2 separate regions of the Homo sapiens genome follow, and region 2 is linked to region 1. Evidence: promoter capture Hi-C in human tissues and cell types (Jung and others, 2019). All regions are on one chromosome and are shown on one strand. The core of a region is centred on a gene start or on the middle of the fragment in contact, and the rest is flanking DNA. Distances in the headings are between cores, read along the strand shown.

The links. The method cuts DNA at HindIII sites, captures the fragments that hold promoters and counts their contacts. A contact is called where the count stands out against the background at its distance.
Region 2: a fragment that was not itself captured here is called in contact with the fragment with the promoter of SHISA4 in region 1 in 2 of the 25 tissues and cell types used here (H1 embryonic stem cells and spleen).

The regions. Positions count from the first base shown.
Region 1 is chr1:201,887,423-201,891,447 of GRCh38, reverse strand. SHISA4 (shisa family member 4) reads right to left here and starts at 2,550. Exons shown (of 5, transcript NM_198149.3): 1 at 2,381-2,550; 2 at 1,832-2,003; 3 at 861-994; 4 at 1-47. The coding sequence starts at 2,453. RefSeq lists enhancers at 2,413-2,707, 2,548-3,057. The HindIII fragment of the contact is 16,044 bases long and covers 1-4,025 here.
Region 2 is chr1:201,560,470-201,564,204 of GRCh38, reverse strand. The region is part of intron 1 of NAV1 (neuron navigator 1); the gene reads right to left. Among named protein-coding and RNA genes, the nearest start is that of NAV1, 23 kb to the right of the region's middle. The HindIII fragment of the contact is 3,528 bases long and covers 1-3,513 here.

The DNA of each region.
Region 1 (4,025 bases), core at 1,301-3,800:
TGGGTATACTGGCTGCACTGGGATGCCTGTCATTGGAATCTCCTGGCCTAGATGGGGGAGAAGGATCAGCATTCAGAGACCCATCTCCTATGGGAAGCCTCCTCCTCCTGCCCAGGAAACCAAGGTAAGCACCCTGGTGCTGGCCTCTGGCAAGCTCCAGGCTGGCCATCTTTGCCTCCCACACCCTGCTTGGCAGAGTTAAGCAGGGAGCTGTGCACGTGGCCCCAGCTGGTCAATCTGTGTTGAGCAAGTTTGCTCCCCTCAGCAGGTTTCAGAGACCTCATGAACCAGGGAGCACAGCCCAGGGAATATCTCACTTGGGCAAGAAGGGGACAGCTCAGGGCTGGTATCCTGTAATCCAGCAGAGCTGCCACTAAGAGGGTCTTCTCCTAGCCCTTCCCTCCCACACTGATCTCCCGTATGGCATCACTGTCCCCATGTCCATCAGGTTGTGGCATATGTGCATCACATGCCAACACTCAGGCACATATTTTGCCATCCACTGGAGCACACTCAATTAATGTTCATCACTACAGACCTGACCCCGTGTACTTACTAAGAGTCATATGTATGCATACACCCACTGCACCCACTATTGTTGACAGACTGCACTCCTGTACACATTTGAATCTTCATGTGTATGCACAGAAATGCACACAAAGTCTGATGTTCCATATATCCCAGGCACATTCTAATATTCACGGGTTTACAAGCATTTTTCTGGGTTTTCATGCTGGCAGGTGTGTGTATACAGAAGCACATACTACTACAGAATTTACCCAATCCATGAACTCTCTGCTGCCCATTATTGGACTTAGCCCAGCCCATCTGAGGCCCTTCTTGCCCAGTACTGGGTGTACCTTCAAATGGGCTCTGGAGCTGCTGGCGCCGGCGGTACAGGTAGCAACAGGAACAGAGGAAGCAGCAGATGGTGGTGGCAACCACAGCAACAAAGAGGATCACAGCTGAGGCGATGCCTGCTATGGTCTTGGGGCTTTAGACAAAGAACAGGTCCTCTCACCTTCCAACACTCATAGGACGGAGTCCTCATTATGCTGGCTCCAACTCCTGGCCAGCAGGGGGGCCATGGCATGCTGAGATTTGGGGTTCCTTGTGGGGCTCTGCCCAGTCCCTGTGAAGGAGATCTTAGAGGACCTCCACTTCCCAGAAGGCTATGCTGCCTGGCTGGCTAGTGTGAAGCATACGGGGATTTGCAGTGCGCCCCCAACCATTGCTTTTATATCTACAACTTAAATGATTAGACATACAGCATAACACTGAAAGGAGCCTTAGAAATAATCTAGAGCCATTTTTTCCAAACCCCGCTTCAATCAGAAGTCTCTATATCTATTTTATATATGATATATTAAAAAAAAGTTTGACAACCACTAATTTGGCAAGCAATGACCCATAGAAGGCAAGTGTCTTCTCCAAGATCACACAGCTAGTAAGAAGTGGACCTGGGAATCAAACCCAAGTCTCCTGCCTTTGTGCCAGAGCTTCTTCCACAAAGCTACACTGTCGTCCGGGTGTTAACCTTGAACCCTCCCTCCCCATGACCTGGCAGGACCAAAGGGAGGGCTCCAGAAAGAACCTGGAAACCCCGGGCCCAGTCAAAGCCTATGAAGGTAACTAACATGCCTTTTCTGGAACTCCCAGGCACCAGCACCTAAGCACCTAGCTCTGCCGCCAGGCTTGAGTCCTGGTGACTCTATTCAGCTAAGAATGTGGAGGTCGACAACGGAGGAGGCAGGAGTCCGGGAGGGAGGAAGAGGAGGCCTCTGGAGAAAAGGATAGAGGAGGTGGTGAGGGTGAGGAGGCAGGAACCCACCTGAAGGCCAGGCAGTGCTTCTGCTGCCTCTCGGTGATAAGCAAGGTCAGGTCCCTGCAGCAGTACCGATGGTAGCAGGTCCCGCAGCAGAAGGTGAAGAACTCGCAGTTAAACCCCGGATGCCAGGAGCCATTCCGGTCCAGGTACCACAGGCAGTCCTCGCCGGCCAGCACTGCGGGCAGGGATTGGGGGTGCCCAGTGGCCACCAGGCCAGTTCATCCCCAGCCGCGCTCGGCCCCACTCCCCCGGCGGTCCCCAGCCTGACGGCTCCCGAACACTGAGGGTTGCCCCTTGTCTCCACCCTGAGGGTCTCAGCCCCAGAGCCCCCGAGGCCTCTGCCTGAAGCTGACCCTGCACCCCGGGATCAGCCTCCCATGGCCCAGCATCCTGGAGCTCCCTCTTCCCGCTTCTTGAGGACCCAGCAACACCCAAGGCTCCCGTGGCAGCCGGAGGGTCTCGGAGAAGCCCCGAGCCCAAGCCCCTCGGATCGGTCCCTCCCCTTCCTCCGCCCCCATCCCACTCCTGCCGCATCTCTCCCCATCCCCTTACCCAGGGGAGCCCCCAGCACCAACAGAGCGATTGCGGTGAGCGGCGCGGCCCGGCGGAGCCCCGCGGGTGGCATGGTGGGGGCTGGGCGCGGCCGGGGTCGGGCCTCCCAGAGAAGGGACCGCAGGACCAAGCCGGCCAGCTGGAGCTGCGGCGGGGCCCAGCCCGCGGCCAGGCTCGGGCTCCTCTTCCGCCTCCTCTGGGGGTGGGACTAAGCGCCCCGCCCGCGCTAACCCAGCCGGCGCGGCTCCGCGCAGCGCCCAGGAGTCCACCCACCAGCGACGCCCACCTAGCCTCTGGAGCTGGGTGCCCCTCACCCAGCAGAGCACTGCCCTGCTCCCCCTGTCCCCGGCTCCGCGGTGGTTCCTCCCATCCGAGCCACCATGGGCACTGCGGGCAGTTGGGCACTGCGGCCAGGGAAGCCTGGCTGTGTCCTGGACCCGCCCCCGGCCTGGGCCCAATCACTATGCTGGACTCCAGAAGCCCTGATCCTGGTGCCACCTCCGAATGCCCAGACACATGGGCCAACCCTGGAGGAGCAGGGCTGGACCTTCACTTGTGGGGGACCTCCTCTGCCGCGTCCAGCCTGGGACATCCTGTCGGGGGCGGAGAGGGAAAGAGGCTGGATGTCACCCCGCCCCCATTCCCAGAACACAAGCACTCATTGAGAGGCATTCAGAGTGGCTTTGTCCCCAGCGGTGCCCACAGGCCTGAACCCTGCCAGCTGCACTGGCTCCCTACGATGGACCCTTCCCCCTTCAAGTGGACAGAGCTGGCATGCACCAGCCCATGGCCTCACTAGCAGGGAAGGCAGGCTGCTGGGGCCACCTGGGGCCCATCCAGTTAAACACTCTTCACAGTGAAAGCCCTTCACAGAGCAAGCCTGTACTGCAATAGCCACCGGAGCATAGGGAGGGCAACAGTTAATTTCAGGTGGGCAACAGTTAATTCCAGGTGGAGACAGTGTTTTAGGATGGGAGAGGTCAGTCTTCACAGGTTTATACTGAGTGCCAGTGACTATGCCCCATGCTACATGAGGTACCCTCCGAGGAACTGCAAATTAAGCCAGGGAGATCATCAAAAGCCTACCTTAATCCCCTGCCATGTACACCCTTTCACACACTTCTGGGCTTCCACATCTACCTCACTGGAATCTTTCCACAACTCCATGAACTAAGCAAGGTTCATCAGTGTTATCAATCGCATTTCACAGACTGAGAAACTAGGACTCATGGAGGTTAAAGAACTTGTTCAAGGTAATACAGCCAGTAAATGGTAGAGGCATCAGGAAGACCCAAATCTAAATCAGGGTTGATCCCCAGCCGCAACAGCAGACAGTGTAGACAGTGAGTATTTCTTGTGTTCTGGGGTGAGAGAATCAGGACAGGTCCATGGAAGGCCCAGTAGAATCTTAGTAGGTTAGGGAAGGACAGCCGAAAGAGGAGCTACCCCATCCTGGGCCCCTGTGGGTGCTGGCACACCTACCCAAGAGAGCTGGAATAGGAGAGGATAGGCTCCTGCCCCAGAAAGTTGCTGGTAGCCTGATGGGCAAGAGTATGTCCTCACGCAGGACACAGTCATAAATGCAGCAGCAGGGACAAAGAGAAACGCCTCTGAATCCAGCACCACCTACTCAGTGTGCCCATTG
Region 2 (3,735 bases), core at 500-2,999, 330 kb after region 1:
CCCTGTGCCAGGGCCGAGGATGCCTGCCTGCCTGCCTGCCTGCCTTCCTTCCTTCCTTTCTTCCTCCCTCCCTCCCTCCTTCTTTCCTTTCTTCTTTCTTTCTTTTTTGAGACACAGTCTTGCTCTGTCACCCAGGCTGGAGTGCAGTGGTGCTAGCATGGCTCACCGCAGCCTCAACCTCTGGGACTCAAGAGATCTTCCCACTCCAGCCTCCTGAGTAGTTAGGGCTACAGGGACACACTACCATGCCTGGCTAATTTTTTAAATTTCTTGTAGAGACGGGGGTCTTGCTATGTTGCCCAGGCTGATCTCAAACTCTTTGGCTGATGTGATTCTCCTGCCTTGGCCTCACAAAGTGTTGGGATTACAAGTGTGAGCCACCACTTCTGGCCAGGAATTTACGGTCCAAAGAGAATCGGATCCCAACCAGATCTGCCTGCCTGCAAAGCTTCTGCTTGTCAGGGCCACAGCATTCTGCCTTCGCAGGTCTTTCACATGTTACCTCATTCTACCCCTACAATAACACACTGAAATAGGGATCCATGCCCTCATTTTGCTGATGAGAAAACTGAGGCTCAGAGAAGTGGGGTGTTAGCCAAAGGGCCCCCAGGTGGTCATATCAGGCCCAGAACTCAAGCTCCTGGCATCCAATTCCAGATTCTGGGTTCTTCCTTACCTCTGATGTGGAGGGATCCTGCAGGCTTTCCTTGCTGTACCTGTGGCACTTGAAGCAGACATGTGGGGTACCCCACCAAGCAGTGTCTTGGGGATTGTGGTCTCGTATGCTTTTCTCTGGGCCCAGTTCCAACATCTCCCAGAAAGATACATCTCCCAGAAAGATACACCAGAAAAAAAATCGTGTTGGGTCAGTGGCACCTGTGGGACGAGTTAACGCCCCCTCTGCCATCCAGGCTGGGTCCCGGCGTCCGGACGCTCTTCGAGGGGCTGTTTCCTGAGGACAAATGTTTCCTGCTGCCGCGGATGCACAGGGGGAGCGTGACCAGGGGCAGCTAGCCCTGAGTCGCACCACCAGCTTGCTAAGCATGTCTGCACCCTCTGACGATCCGGTCACCTCTTCATTAGTCTGTAGCTTCCCCCACACATCCTCTCTTAGGACTTGACAAAAGGCCAGGATATTTCAATTGGGAGGCTCAGGCCACTCTAAATACTCATAACCACCCACTCTGGCAAAAACTATTTACTATGCGTGTTCCTGTGCATTACCTCACTGATTCACCCACCGTCCTAGGCTGTTATCATCCCTACTTTTCAGAAAAGGAAACTGATGCTCAGACAGATCCCGTGATCCAACAGCATCCAGGATCTGGACTGAGGTATTGGACTTCTGGTGACTCACTGGTTCCCTACTGACAGGCTCTGTAGGCAGGGCCTGCCCCACCCCTCCCTGCCTGCTCCCTTCCATCCACCAGGCCCAGGAGAGAGCACCAACCGCCTAGAAGTACCCTGCAAGCTAAAACAGAAAGAGATGCCACATTCTGCTCTCATACAGTCCTAGAATGACCTGCTTAATATTATATCTTAAGCTCCACTCAGAAGGAAGCTTGGAGCTTTCAGAAAGCAGTTTCAAAAGTGATCAGTCCTGCCGGGATCCTTTCAGACCATACAGTGTCCAAGGCAAAGGACCACTGCCCACCTGGGCCTGGCCCACTAACCCTGTCCTGCCCAGGGCTCAGGAGGCCCAGCTGCTGAGGGGTTGCTGTGATGGAGGAGTGAGTCATGGGGCCTGGAATCTGAAGCCTTCCAGACCTTCGCCCATCCCAGCCAACTTCACATCTGCCATCCAGATGTCTCCACTTCGGAAATGCTTTCTACCAACTAGGACCCAAGGTCGGGGGGCATACTTGACCTTAGAAAAATACCTTCAGGTTGGGTTTGGTGGCTCATGCCTGTAATTCCAGCACTTTTGGGGCTGAAAGGCCAGAGGATCACTTGAGCCCAGGAGTTCGAGACCAGCCTAGGCAACATAGTGAGACTTCCCAACCCAGCTGTCTCTACAAAAAAAAAAAAAAAAATTAGCCAGGCAAGGTGGTGTGTGCCTGTAGTCTCAGCTACTTAGGAGGCTAAGGTGGGAGAACCGCCTGAGCCCAGGAGTTCAAGGCTGCAGTGAGCTATGATGGTGCCGCTGCACTCCAGCCTGGGTGACAGAGCAAGACCTTGTCTCTAAAAAAACCGAAAAATAAATAGGAATAAATAAATAAAAAATACCTTCAGAACCTCCTTGGTCTCCTTGGTTGATTCTCAAACCTAAACCTAACTGGGTGCCTTTGTTCCAACCATTGATAGTCTCATGCTGTGACCAAGCTTACTGCCTAAGGGCCCTGAACATGGGGGATCTGATGGAGGAACAGAGCCCCAGCCTGCAGGGAGTTCCCAGGCTGATGGGCAAGGCACAGTTCCTAATCTCATGGAGGCCCCAGGCTGAGTAGGGAACACAGCCAAACACAGCCTTGTCCTTAACCAGATCCTACACTAATGGAAGAGACAGAACCCTGCCCCCAGGAAGCCTACTGCCTAATAGGGAAAAACTTCTGTATCTGTGGGGAGCTTCCAATGTCCAGAAAAAAAGGACTCAGAAGAAAAATCTAGAAACATGGATAATGGAAGTGAAGGAAACTAACTTTTATTGAATGTCTAGCATATGCCAGCTACTATACAGATTTAATCTTCTTTAATTCTCACAATTACCTCATTTACAGTCAAGGAAACTAAAGCACCCTGGTTAGTTACCCAGCTAGTAAGTAAGTAAGTAACAGAATCAGGATTTGAACTCAGATCTGTGCAGCTCCCACATCCTGTTTTTGCGTAACACCATGTGTGATGGGGCAGATTCGTTTACCTTCTTTTCCCACATCACCCTTTAGGCTGGGAGCTAGTTCTTGTTTCCTGTTGCAAATCACCATTCTCACAACACTAAAAATTACTACACTTAGGACTACTTCATTGACTGACAATATCCCACTGTCCCAGCAGCAAGAGGGACTGCCGACTCTGTCCCTTTAAAATGAAGAGAAGGACTCACAAAGGAGCTCCCATCCTCCACTAGCAAGGGGTCCCACCCACCACAGAGGCAAGCTGTGGTCAAGGCAGGGGCTTCTTGGGGTCTCATGGAGAAAAGGTTCAGAAATCAAAGCCCCACCCCAGGTTGGTCCCAAGCCAGTCACTGGATGAACACACTCCCTGGTACCTGTGGAAAGAGTAGCGACTGCTGCACGCCACTGGAAAGCCTGTGGTGGTGGCAAATGCAACGGAAATGCTGACTATGTTCCCTGAGCCCACTGTCTGCTTTGTGGCACCCAGGGCTGGCCTGGAATAGCAGCCTGGCCTTCCCGTCATTGTGCTGGAGCTCTGGGAGGTCTCGGCTCATGGCAAGGATCCACAGATCCCAAAGCCTTCTGTGGCTCCTCAGTCCCAGGGAAGGGGCTCTGCAGAGACAGGAGATAAAAATGCTGCCACGCAGCAACAGAGATGCACATCTGTACAAACATCAGTGTCTTTCCACGGGAACAGTGACTTGGGCATTGAAGGACTGGGAGACAGGATTTCATTAAATATCCTGTTTCTCAGGGCCTGCTGTGGGGCAAGAGCTCTGGCAAGGAACCTAGGGTCCATTGCCAATTCCAGCTCCTCCTCTGCTTCTCTCTGGCACCCCAAACACCCCGGATGCAGGGTCACTGGGCTCTTGCCTGTTGGTCACCACACCAGGATGGCCAAGGC